Regions from separate parts of the Homo sapiens genome. Here all the other regions are linked to region 1. The links are contacts of gene promoters, found by promoter capture Hi-C in human tissues and cell types (Jung and others, 2019). All regions are on one chromosome and are shown on one strand. Each heading gives the region's core, a stretch centred on a gene start or on the middle of the fragment in contact. The rest is flanking DNA. Distances are from core to core; before and after follow the strand shown.

The links. Contacts are between HindIII fragments. The study calls those that stand out against the background at their distance.
Region 2: a fragment that was not itself captured here is called in contact with the fragment with the promoter of TULP4 in region 1 in 3 of the 25 tissues and cell types used here (H1 embryonic stem cells, dorsolateral prefrontal cortex and neural progenitor cells).
Region 3: a fragment that was not itself captured here is called in contact with the fragment with the promoter of TULP4 in region 1 in 2 of the 25 tissues and cell types used here (dorsolateral prefrontal cortex and hippocampus).

Annotation. Positions count from the first base shown.
Region 1 is chr6:158,310,658-158,314,251 of GRCh38, forward strand. TULP4 (TUB like protein 4) reads left to right here and starts at 1,808. Exons shown (of 14, transcript NM_020245.5): 1 at 1,808-3,594. The coding sequence starts at 3,360. RefSeq lists an enhancer at 3,432-3,511. The HindIII fragment of the contact is 2,154 bases long and covers 219-2,372 here.
Region 2 is chr6:158,362,188-158,365,781 of GRCh38, forward strand. All of the region lies in intron 1 of TULP4 (TUB like protein 4), which reads left to right. Among named protein-coding and RNA genes, the nearest start is that of SNORA116, 41 kb to the left of the region's middle. The HindIII fragment of the contact is 4,819 bases long and covers 1-3,594 here.
Region 3 is chr6:158,267,401-158,270,994 of GRCh38, forward strand. It overlaps a transcript of TULP4 not described here. Among named protein-coding and RNA genes, the nearest start is that of TULP4, 43 kb to the right of the region's middle. The HindIII fragment of the contact is 3,105 bases long and covers 192-3,296 here.

The DNA of each region.
Region 1 (3,594 bases), core at 558-3,057:
CAGGCCCCACCTCTAACACTGGGGGTTACGTTTCAGCATGAGATTTGGAGGGGCCAAACATTCAAACCATGTCACATGGTATTCCATGAAAAAAGCAAGCAGTTCATTTTGCAACTTAAACTGTATAATACATGCTTTTTCCTGGGACTACCATGGTGCTTCAGTAGTCCACAGAAGTACTTTATGTGTACCTACTATTTTGGGACACAAGGGTATTAAAAACCATGTACTCAAGGGCTGATATTTAATAAAATTAATAATTTTTACTGCCGTATCAAAGATGTTCTTAAGTGAGGCTGGCTTTTTTTTTCTTTCTTTTTTTTAATCTATGACTACTGGTGCAGTTGGTACCTCTACCTTGATTAGTGTTAAAGAGCTTGCAGTTTGACCCACTGTTGATTTTGCACCATGGGTACAAATGTGAACACGGAAGAAGGCAAATTATGTCCTAGTATTATGATGAAAGTAGAGTCTTTTGCTGGGACTTGATGCTACAGGCCAGTAGTTCTCAAAGCCTGGTTCCCTGCCCAGCAGCATTAGCATCTCTTGGGAGCTTATTAGAAATGCGAACACCTGGGCCCTTCCCTTCCCTTTCAGTGTCCAGTTCCTGTGGGATGGGGCTGGGCCGCTTCAGCTGCCCCAGGAGACTGAGAGAGTCTGCTGAATTTGAGAAAGTCCACTCTGCTTTCTGGAAGGACTGGCGGGGCGGGAGGGCAGGGAGGATGAGTAAGTTAGGGACAGAGTGTTCTCGTGTTTGTAGAGGATGTGATGCAGCCTGGACTTCAGGCAGTAGGAAGAAGATGGAATGGATTTGCTAGAGACAGATTCTCTAGAACTTTATTGCTGGTAGACCACATAAAAGCTTAGAAAACAGCTGCGCTTTGCTCCGAGACCTGCCAGCCATCAGGGACGAATGAGTTTTAAAGGCCCTTACTGCTTTGTGTCTTGAGGGAATATCTTTTATTAATCGTGAAAAAATCAATCCAGATAACTTGCCTGAGTCATTTCAGTCTCCTTTTTGAGGATGCCTGCTTAAACAGCGACCATGGTCTCTGGAGGGGTAGAGTCTCACATTCGGAGTTCAGTCTCTTAGAAAGTACAGTTCAGTGTGGAAGAATGGCAGTTATGATTTCATTCAGATGTGCCCAGCTGCTGACAAATTGAATACAACGATCAGTGGCAGGCAGAACTCTCATTTGTTGTGTGTTGTCTTGAGTCTGGTGAGGTGTATCCTTTCACTATTGGATTTTACCATTCAGTGCAGTCAGTAGCTCCATTTGATGTAAGTGTAAAGATGGGTCTCTCATTTCAGTTTCAGCAATTATTCTTAAAACCTTTATTTTCCAGTGTTTTAAAGTTTTTAAATTTTATATCTTTTTTTTTTTTTAAACAGATTTGTAAGACTCCAGGGCCTCCCAGCCGTGAATAATCTGATGGTTCCTGAAATGACTGGGGAAGCAGACGCTTCGTATGGCAGTTGAAGAGTGTGTGTCTATGTGCATTTAAAACCTTCTTTCTGTACTTACACATTCACACGGGAAGACAGGCTCATTCTTGTGCACACTTGAGAGTTTTACAACTGATGAAAATTAATTTAAGAATCAGATGGAGCAACTTGACACCAGTGGGCTCAGGAGCCCGGGGAGAAAAATACATCACTAATGGCCAGTTTTCCATATGGTCTGCACGGGTAAAGAAAGTCTGCAAAAAGAAGAAAAAAAAATTTGCGCAGATTAAACCACAAAAATATTCTCCAGTTTAAAGAAGGAACTAAGTGAGAAGGTGACTGAGAAAGAAGTGTGATTTCAAACATTGCAGCGGCTCACACAGTGTTTGTTGCACTTTATTTTTCAGTGGGTTTGGTGATTTGGACGGATTAAAATTCTAGACTGAAAAGTAACTCCTACTGTGGTTATGGCTAGAGGAAAGCAAGTTCAAGTATGATGGGACAAGTTTGAATAATGAACTGATTCCTTTGCCTATCTTAATTAACTGTATTTGAGAAATTTTAATTTATTATTCCCCCCCTTTTTTCCTGCATCTATAGGATAATATTGTAAAATAGCAATTGAAACCAATAATTATTAAATAAATATCAAGGAAAATCCAAGCAAAGCTTTCTTTTTGTTGGACTAGTGGTGTGGTGTTTGGAGACAGTCTCTGAATGTGAACAGGAAAGCACCCATCAGCAAAACACTATCACTCTCTAGGGAGACAGCTGGGGGAATCTGACTCTGGCTTCTGCTTTTGTTTTAAGGGATTAACTTCCCTGTCAAGTCCAAGAAGACTTGCGTATGAGAAGATTACCTGATGGACTTAATTCTAAGATTAGCTTTTTTCATCAAGATGGAAAAAGATCTTTAGGAGCAGAAAAGGGGAGTGCTAACTGGGGGAGCGAGAAGGGAGACGAGCAAAAGAAACAAAATCTTGCCACGTGGCTCTGTTTTGTCAGCAAGAGGATTTAAGACTCACCCAGGGCAAACACTGGGACCACTGTAAGAGCGCTGGAACATTCTGCCTCTTGAGTGAAGGGGCCTTCTTTCTAGCCTCTATGGCACTGAGGGGTGCGCCGGCTGGTGGAGGAGCAGTCCGATGGAGCCCTGCGTTCCCCGGGGACACAGGGCCAAGCTTTGAGGTGGAAAGTTTCTGGTTCTGAAACAACAAGGAGAGAGTCTGTTTTTCTTCCTAAAATTTGGACTCTTGTCTGCACAAACTCTGGTCTGTTTTGCACGGTTTGTGTGCCTTTTTTTCCCTTTATGCAATCTTTTTCAGCTTTAGCAGCAGAAATTTGTCTAGTTCAGGAAACATGCTAGAGGGTGGCTTCAGAAGGAAGATGATCCTGTGTATTCTGTCTCTGCATCCGAACTTTTGAAGAGAAAAATTCGAGCTAGAGGGATTCTTAAAGCCTTAAGTTACTTGAAATCTATGTATTTGCAACCCTTTGTCTCTGGAATCATATTACACTAAACTGGAATCTCAGGCTGAATGAGAATAACCAAGTGGAGTAAAAAGAAGAAAACCGTTTCTTGATCACCACTTAATTAACGATGCTCTTTCTCCAAAGGATCAGCACGTTCTTCCTCTGAGAACTTGAAAATACAAATGGACCCCATGTTTTTTTAAGCATTACCTTTTCTTAGAAGACTGCCATCATCTTTTATAGAGGAATTTTTTCACTATGCATTCGGTGGATCTTTATAAAATACTGACCTTCTAATTAGATTCAGGTCAGTCTTAATTAAAGGGGGAAAAAAGCAACGCAAGCCAACCACAAAAACACATATACCAATGAAAGAAATTGGTTTAAATTTCACAGCATTAACATTACTTTTTAAGTAAAACAGTTCATTGAAGAAAGTATGTATGCAGCAGTGGAACATGGGCCTGTGCTTTGCAGCGATTCCAACATCCTGTGCCTGTCCTGGAAGGGGCGTGTCCCCAAGAGTGAGAAGGAGAAGCCTGTGTGCAGGAGACGCTACTATGAGGAAGGCTGGCTGGCCACGGGCAACGGGCGAGGAGTGGTTGGGGTGACTTTCACCTCTAGTCACTGTCGCAGGGACAGGAGTACTCCACAGAGGATAAATTTCAACCTCC
Region 2 (3,594 bases), core at 768-3,267, 52 kb after region 1:
GACTCTGACCACAGACTATCTTCCAATATATCCTGCAAAATGATCCTTTATGGAAAACACCAAACTTCTTCCAGTGAAGTCTGATACTGTTGTAGTTACTGACAGCATAACAGACTGCGCTTGTTGTTTGTTCATCCAAGTTTGACTAGCCAACATTGAAGGATTTTTTTTTTTTCTTAACAGATGAGGTCTCTCTCTGTTGCCCAGGCTGGAGTGCAGTGATGCAGTCATAGTTCACTGTAAGCTTGACCTCCTGGGCTCAAGCAATGCTCCCGCCTCAGCTTCTCAAGTAGCCGGCACTACAGGTGTGTGCTCCCATGCCCAGCTAATTTTGGTATTTTTTATAGAGACAGGGTCTTGCTGTATTGTCCAGGCTGGTCTGGAACTCCTGGCCTCAAGTGATCTTCCTGCATTGGACTCCCAAAGTGTTGAGGTTACAGATGTGAGCCATGGTGCCCGGCCAGAGGGATTTTCATAATTATATTTATACTTCTCTGAGGTCTTTGGTGTCTGGGGTTGTAGATTGTGTCCATCTGTACTTAACCCATGCACACAGAGTGTTGTTTAGTGAATCTGACTTGAAACTCCATGCAAAGTCACAGTCTTGGCTGGGTGCGGTGGCTCACGCCCTTAATCCCAGCACTTTGGGAGGTCAGGAGGTCAGGAGTTCGAGACTAGCCTGGCCAAGTTGGTGAAACCCCATCTCTACTAAAAAAATACAAAAATTAGCCGGGTGCAGTGGCAGGTGCCTGTAATCCCAGCTACTCGGGAGGCTAAGGCAGGAGAAGCGCTTGAACCCGGGAGGCGGAGTTTGCAGTGAGCCAAGATTGCGCGTCTGCACTCTAGCCTGGGGGGACAGAGCGAGACTCCATCTCAAAAAAAAAAAAAAAAAAAAAAGTCACAGTCTTTGTATTAGGGCCAGGGAGTATTGTCCAGCTATTCACTGTTTAGAGCTAATACTTCCTTTATTCCCTGTTCTATCACATAAAAAACTATAGAACCTTCTCTTGCTGGCTGTGTGTACAGTGTTACAATAATTTACAATGCTTAAAAATAGGCAGATAATTGCTCTGGGATCCAGATGTGGAGGTTGAGATGACTTTATTGGGGAATGTGTTAACATATCACAGATCGCAGCAAGGGAACTAACATTTGTGTATAAATCACTGTTACATCTTTGAGGGTTAAGGCATCTATTTTTTTATTCACTTAGAGTACCAACTAGATTTTTTTCAACTGTCATTTTGCTGCCTATTTCCATGTAAGTTGAAGGTATGATAGTCACATTTTTTTTGTTTTTGTTTGTTTTCTTTTGAGGCGGAGTCTCACTGTGTCGCCCAGGCTGGAGTGCAGTGGCACGATCTTGGCTCACTGCAACCTCTGCCTCCTGGGTTCAAGTGATTCTCCTGCCTTAGCCTCCTGAGTAGCTGGGACTACAGGCACGCATCACTACGCCGGGCTATTTTTTTTGTATTTTTAGTAGAAATGGGGTTTTGCCCTGTTGGCCAGGCTGGTCCTGAACTCCTGACCTCAGGTGATCCACCCCCCCGGCCTCCCAAAGTGCTGGGATTACAGGCGTGAGCCACCGCGCAAGGCCGCGTGTTTTTTTTTTCTTTTAATTAAGTGTATGCATACAGTTGCCATTTGCAAAATCTTACTTTCATAAATACATATTAAAATAGTGAAATAATGTCATATGAAAAGAAAAATTTAGTTTTGTTTAGAGATGCACAGAATTTCTCTTTATTTAGATGTAAACCAAAGACAATTATGAATTATTTATCAACACTTTACCTTTCAAAATAAATTAAAAAAACCCACAATTTTGTGTTAAATATGGAGGAAATAGAACGTATCACTGAGAGCCAGGTAATTTGACCAAAGAAAGGTACAGTCAATAAAATGACTTCTCTTGGATCTCTTCCTTATTCTAATCACACTTCAAGGAAGTTTTTAAATTTAAAAAAATAATTTGAATGCTATGAAAAATATTGTATAATATTTAGGAACTGTCAAGTGTAGTTTTATATCTAACTAGAAGTTAAAATATGGAAGTGTGAAAATGAAGATGAAGATGCAGAGAGTTAGTTTAGAGGAAAGAGTACTAACTTGGGAGTCAACATGCCAAGGTTCCTTTGGTCTCAGCCATGAATTAAGAAACCTAAAACAAGTCCTTTATTCTGTCTTAGCTTACTGTATCACCTTCTTTCCCTTTGGGTTTTTATTATTTTTATTGAAGCATGTATTTTCTAGTAGTTCTTAGAGTAACTATCTATAGAAGGTAAACCTAGTCTTTGTATTTCAGAAATATCTTTTGTTTCATCTTTACTCTTCCTGGGTTTGGAATTCTGGGTTAGCTGGTTTTGTCTTAGAACTTTGAAAATATGATGTTATTGCCTTCTGTTATTCATTGTTACTGTTAAGAAGTCTGCTGCCAGTCTAATTATCATTCCCTTTTAACTGTTTTTTCAGTCTGCTAGTTTTCAAGGTTTTCTCTTTATCCTTAATGTTTTGCAGCCTCACAGCAATCTACCTAGATTTGTTTTTTGTTTGTTTGTTTGTTTTTTAAGACGGAGTCTCATTCTGTCACCCAGGCTGGAGTGCAGTGGCGTGATCTTGGCTCACTGCAAGCTCTGCCTCCCAGGTTGACGCCATTCTCCTGACTCAGCCTTCCGAGTTGTGGGACTACAGGCGCCCGCCACCACGCCTGGCTAATTTTTTGTATTTTTAGTAGAGATGGGGTTTCACCATGTTAGTCAGGATGGTCTCGATCTCCTGACCTTGTGATCCACCTGCCTCGGCCTCCCAAAGTGCTGGGATTACAGGCGTGAGCCACCGCGCCCAGCCCCTAGATTTGTTTTTATCCAGTCTCTGCTTGGCACTCATTGCGAGCTTTCAGAATTGAGATTCAAGTCTTCAATTATGGCACATTTTTAGCGTTAGTTCTAGTATTGCCTCCCCACCACTCCTTCTAGCTTTATTTCTGGAAATCCTACTAGATGTGTTTCTTTTCACTCTACCTGTTATGTTACTTCACTTCTCATAGAGAGAAGTGTTTTATCTCTATTCTATACACAGAGTGAATTTAATTTACTAATTCTCTCGTTTACTGTGCTTGGTGTTGTTTCTCCCCATCTACTGACCATATATTTCATTTTCAGGATTTTGAATAGGTTTTTGTTTTCATAACTACTGCCTGATTTTGTTTCTAAAAATTTTTTTTTTTCTGGTTATTTTTCTTGTGTATCTCTTTGGAAGTTTTTTTTTTCTTTTTTTCTTTTTTCTTTTTTCTTTTTTTTTTGTTTTTGAGACAGAGTCTTGCTCTGTTGCCCAGGCTGGAGTGCAGTGGTGCGATCTCAGCTCACTGCAAGCTCCGCCTCGCAGGTTCACGCCATTCTCCTGCCTCAGCCTCCTGAGTAGCTGGGACTACAGGTGCCCGCCACCATGCCCAGCTAATTTTTTGTTAGTAGAGAGGGGGTTTCACCATGTTAGCCAATAGGGTCTCGATCTCCTGACCTTGTGATCCGCCCGCCTTGGCCTCCCAAAATGCTGGGATTACAGGCATGAGCTACCGCGCCCGGCCTGGAAGTTTTA
Region 3 (3,594 bases), core at 494-2,993, 43 kb before region 1:
TAAGTGATGTGAGAAGTCAGTGTGGGTTCATACAGAGTAACCAAAGGAGGTTGTCCTTGCCTTTCATCTAGTTGTTAGACTGAGGGAGGGTAGGACCTGGGAGGATTCCAGAAGAAGGTCTTCAGTTTGATTTCTGACCCTCCCACTTCTGTTGCTCTGTTAGGCCTCTGTGTACAGTTAGCAGCCATCTCATAGTAAATCTTCCAAATAATTAGGAGGGTCACTGCTTTGTCAGGACAATTTATACCCTTTCTCAATTAGCAAATTGTGTGGCAATCCAAAGTTAACTGGAGTGTTGCTCCCCTTTTCTATTTTGCTCCCGTGTGGATGTGGTGCAAGAAGGCCTGCCAAGGTCAGCCTCCCGTTTTCCTCCGTGGGTTGGTATAGACATGTTTGTTGGCCAGACATTGCCTAAAGCCCTGTAGTCAAGGGTGGTGTGCTTGCATTTGCCTGGCTGAATTAAGGCTCTTGGTGCTTTTCTATCAGTCGAATCCCTTCTCCTCCATGTCTTCTAGAAATTGAGAAGGGTTTATCAGTGGTACCTCACTCTGTTTTCCACAGGTTTTTAAAATTTTTTTTTGTTCTTTTACATTTGTTTGATCTTTTCTTTTCTTTTCTTTTCTTTTTCTTTTTTCTTTTTTTTTTTTTTTTTGAGACGTACTTTTGCTCTTGTTGCCCAGGCTGGATTGCAGTGGTGCGATCCTGGCTCACCACAACCTCTGCCTCCTGGGTTCAAGCGATTCTTCTGCCCCAGCCTCCCGAGTAGCTGGGATTACAGGCATGCACCACCACACTTGGCTAATTTTTTTTGTATTTTTAGTGGAGACGGAGTTTCTCCATGTTGGTCAGGCTGGTCTTGAACTCCCAACCCCAGGTGATCCGGCCACTTCTGCCTCCCAGAGTGCTGGAATTACAGGTGTGAGCCACTGCACCCGGCCTTGTTTGATCATTTTAATGGGACTTTGGGGAGAGGGATAAGGTAAACAGATGGCTCATTCATCATCCTGAATTTATTTTTGTGTACTATTTATTGTCTTAGTCTGTTTGGCTGCTATAACAAAATACCTTAGACTGGGTAATTTATAAACAGTAGAAATGTGTTGCTCACAATCCTGGGAGCTGAGAAGTCCAAGAGCAAGGCACCAGTGGACTTGTTGTCTGGTGAGGGCTTGCTTAATCACTTCCCAAAGGCCCCACCTCGTAATGCTATTACATTTGGTATTAGGTTCCAACATAGGAATTTTGGGGGGACACCAACATTTGGATCATAGCAATTACATTTTCCTATTTTACTGAACTCTTAATTGTTCTGATTTCATTTGATTCTGTTGGGTTTTCCAGATGGAAAATTATATTACTTACAAATCAGGGTGATTTTTGGCTCTATTTTTATATGACTTTTTTCTATTTTTATATGACTTTTTTTCCTGTTGTAATATTTTGCTTGTAATTTCTAGAATGATACTGAATAGCACTTTTGGTGAGCATCTTTGGCTTAATCCTCCCTTTAGCCTTTAGCACTGTTGGCTTTAGTCACTTTCTGCATATTGCCAAATTGCTTTTTGGAAAGCTGCACTAGAATTGGAGAGTGCTTGTCACCCATGTCCACACCCAAGCTTAGTGACCAGAGCATTGTGAAGGGTCTTTCCAATTTGTGGCTCTTGTCATTTTAAAATTAAATTTGGGTTTGCCATTTATTATTTTTTTCTAGAAATTCTCGAGTCTGAGAATATGAGAATAGAGTTGGCCTAGGTTCATACATTGTTTTGTTCTCACCAGATAATTACACAACTTTTTCTTCCTATTCCAAAGTAACAGTGTTGTGGAGTGGAAATTACTGTTGTTAATTTTAGCACCATAGTTTGGTGGAAAAAAGTATGGGTCTTGGAGCCAGATATCAGAACTAAGCTATGTCACTAATAGCCTAGTGACTTTTCATAACCTTACTTAAACTCTTTGAACTTTAGTTTCAGCATTTGTAAAAAAAAAAAAAAAAAAAAGGATTTTCCTGTCTCACTGGGAGACTGAGAACATGGAGTAAGATGCAAAGTGGGCCCTTCCTTAGTAATGGAGAAATCATTAGCATTCACATACAAGGCCATTCAGCAAGAATTCGTTGCCATTTGAGATTTTGATAGACTTTAATTTTGATCAGAGATAATTTTAACCTTTTTTTCTCCGTGATTCTTCATCCCTGATTTCCAGATGGAATCAGGGTCAATGATAATTGTCTCTGCATATTTCTTTAATAATCTATTTTATTCCAGATTTTAAACATTGCTTAATGGGTAGAATATAAATGAAATTGCAAAAGCAATGTCCAACATTTATTTAGCACTTTACTATGTGGGCAGGTAATTAAGTACTTGACATATGTTTATTTAGTCTTCCCAACATTCCTACTTCTTGGGAAATGAAGGTGTTTGAAAAGTTACCCAGTCAGGTGGTGGGAGAGCCAGGCCCGGTGCCCGGCAGTCTTGCTGCTGAGCTGCTGTCACTGTTCTGCCTTTGTGGTCTTCACAGGGTTGCTCCCTTTATTCCGTGTTCCTTAAGCCCATTTTATTGCTTCTAGATCTAGGAAAAAACAAAAACACTGAGTTTTTGAAAAGGCTAATTGTTTTAAAGTTAAATAGTAAGTGTCAAATGTACAGCATTCATATCTATTAAATATACGTTAATTCTACTCTGTAGCAGTAAGACCCTTTCCTATCCAGGCAGTATAATTAGATCTTCTATATATCTTTAATAGCCTTCTATTTATCTTAAGAACTCTGGCTTAATTTTCTCTTGGATTATTATAAAGTCTTCATTATTGAGATATTTTTGTCAGTAAATTGTCCTTACTTGGTCCAACTTGGAGCTCTCTTTCTTTGTTTTGCTCTTGCATCATCATCTGAAGACCCTACCTTGGCTTTATCCTGCCAGGGACCGGTCATTCCAGCAAGATTCTCTCAACTCTGCTCCACAGCACTTTTTTGGCTCTTGATTACAGGATTTACCTTGTAGTATTGAAGTTGGTTTATTTTGCCCATCTTCTCTCACTGTGTAGGGTGCTTCTCGGGGCTAGGGACTGGACTTCGATGAGTTTTGCATTGTCAGCACCCGGCCTGTTCGGCCTGTGGTGGGCACTCACTAAGTGTCTCTGGTACCGGGGCCGGTGATGGGCACTCAGTTAGCGTCTCTGGCCTGAGTGTTGCTTGGCTGCTTTCCTGGTTTGACACTGCACTTTAGACTATTGCAGCTAAAATTAACACACATCATCTGTTGATGTGATGCTTGCCTCCTTTTAAGCTTTTCTCAAGCTTTCAAAATTTCTTCCTGAAGTTTTTCCTTCACAGATGAAATTGCTCCTGAATTAGAGGTGATTTACTCCAGGCTTCCTTGTGCTTAAATGTGGCAACTTTCAAGGCTGCCTTCATTTTTGCCTCAGAGTTTATAAAGCAGCTTAGTGTGAATAGATGCTGTAGGGCCGGGCACAGTGGCCCATGCCTGTAATCCCAGCACTTTGGGAGGCTGAGGCAGGTTGATCACCTGAGGTCAGGAGGTCAAGACCAGCCTGGCCAACATGGTGAAACCCTGTCTCTATTAAAAATA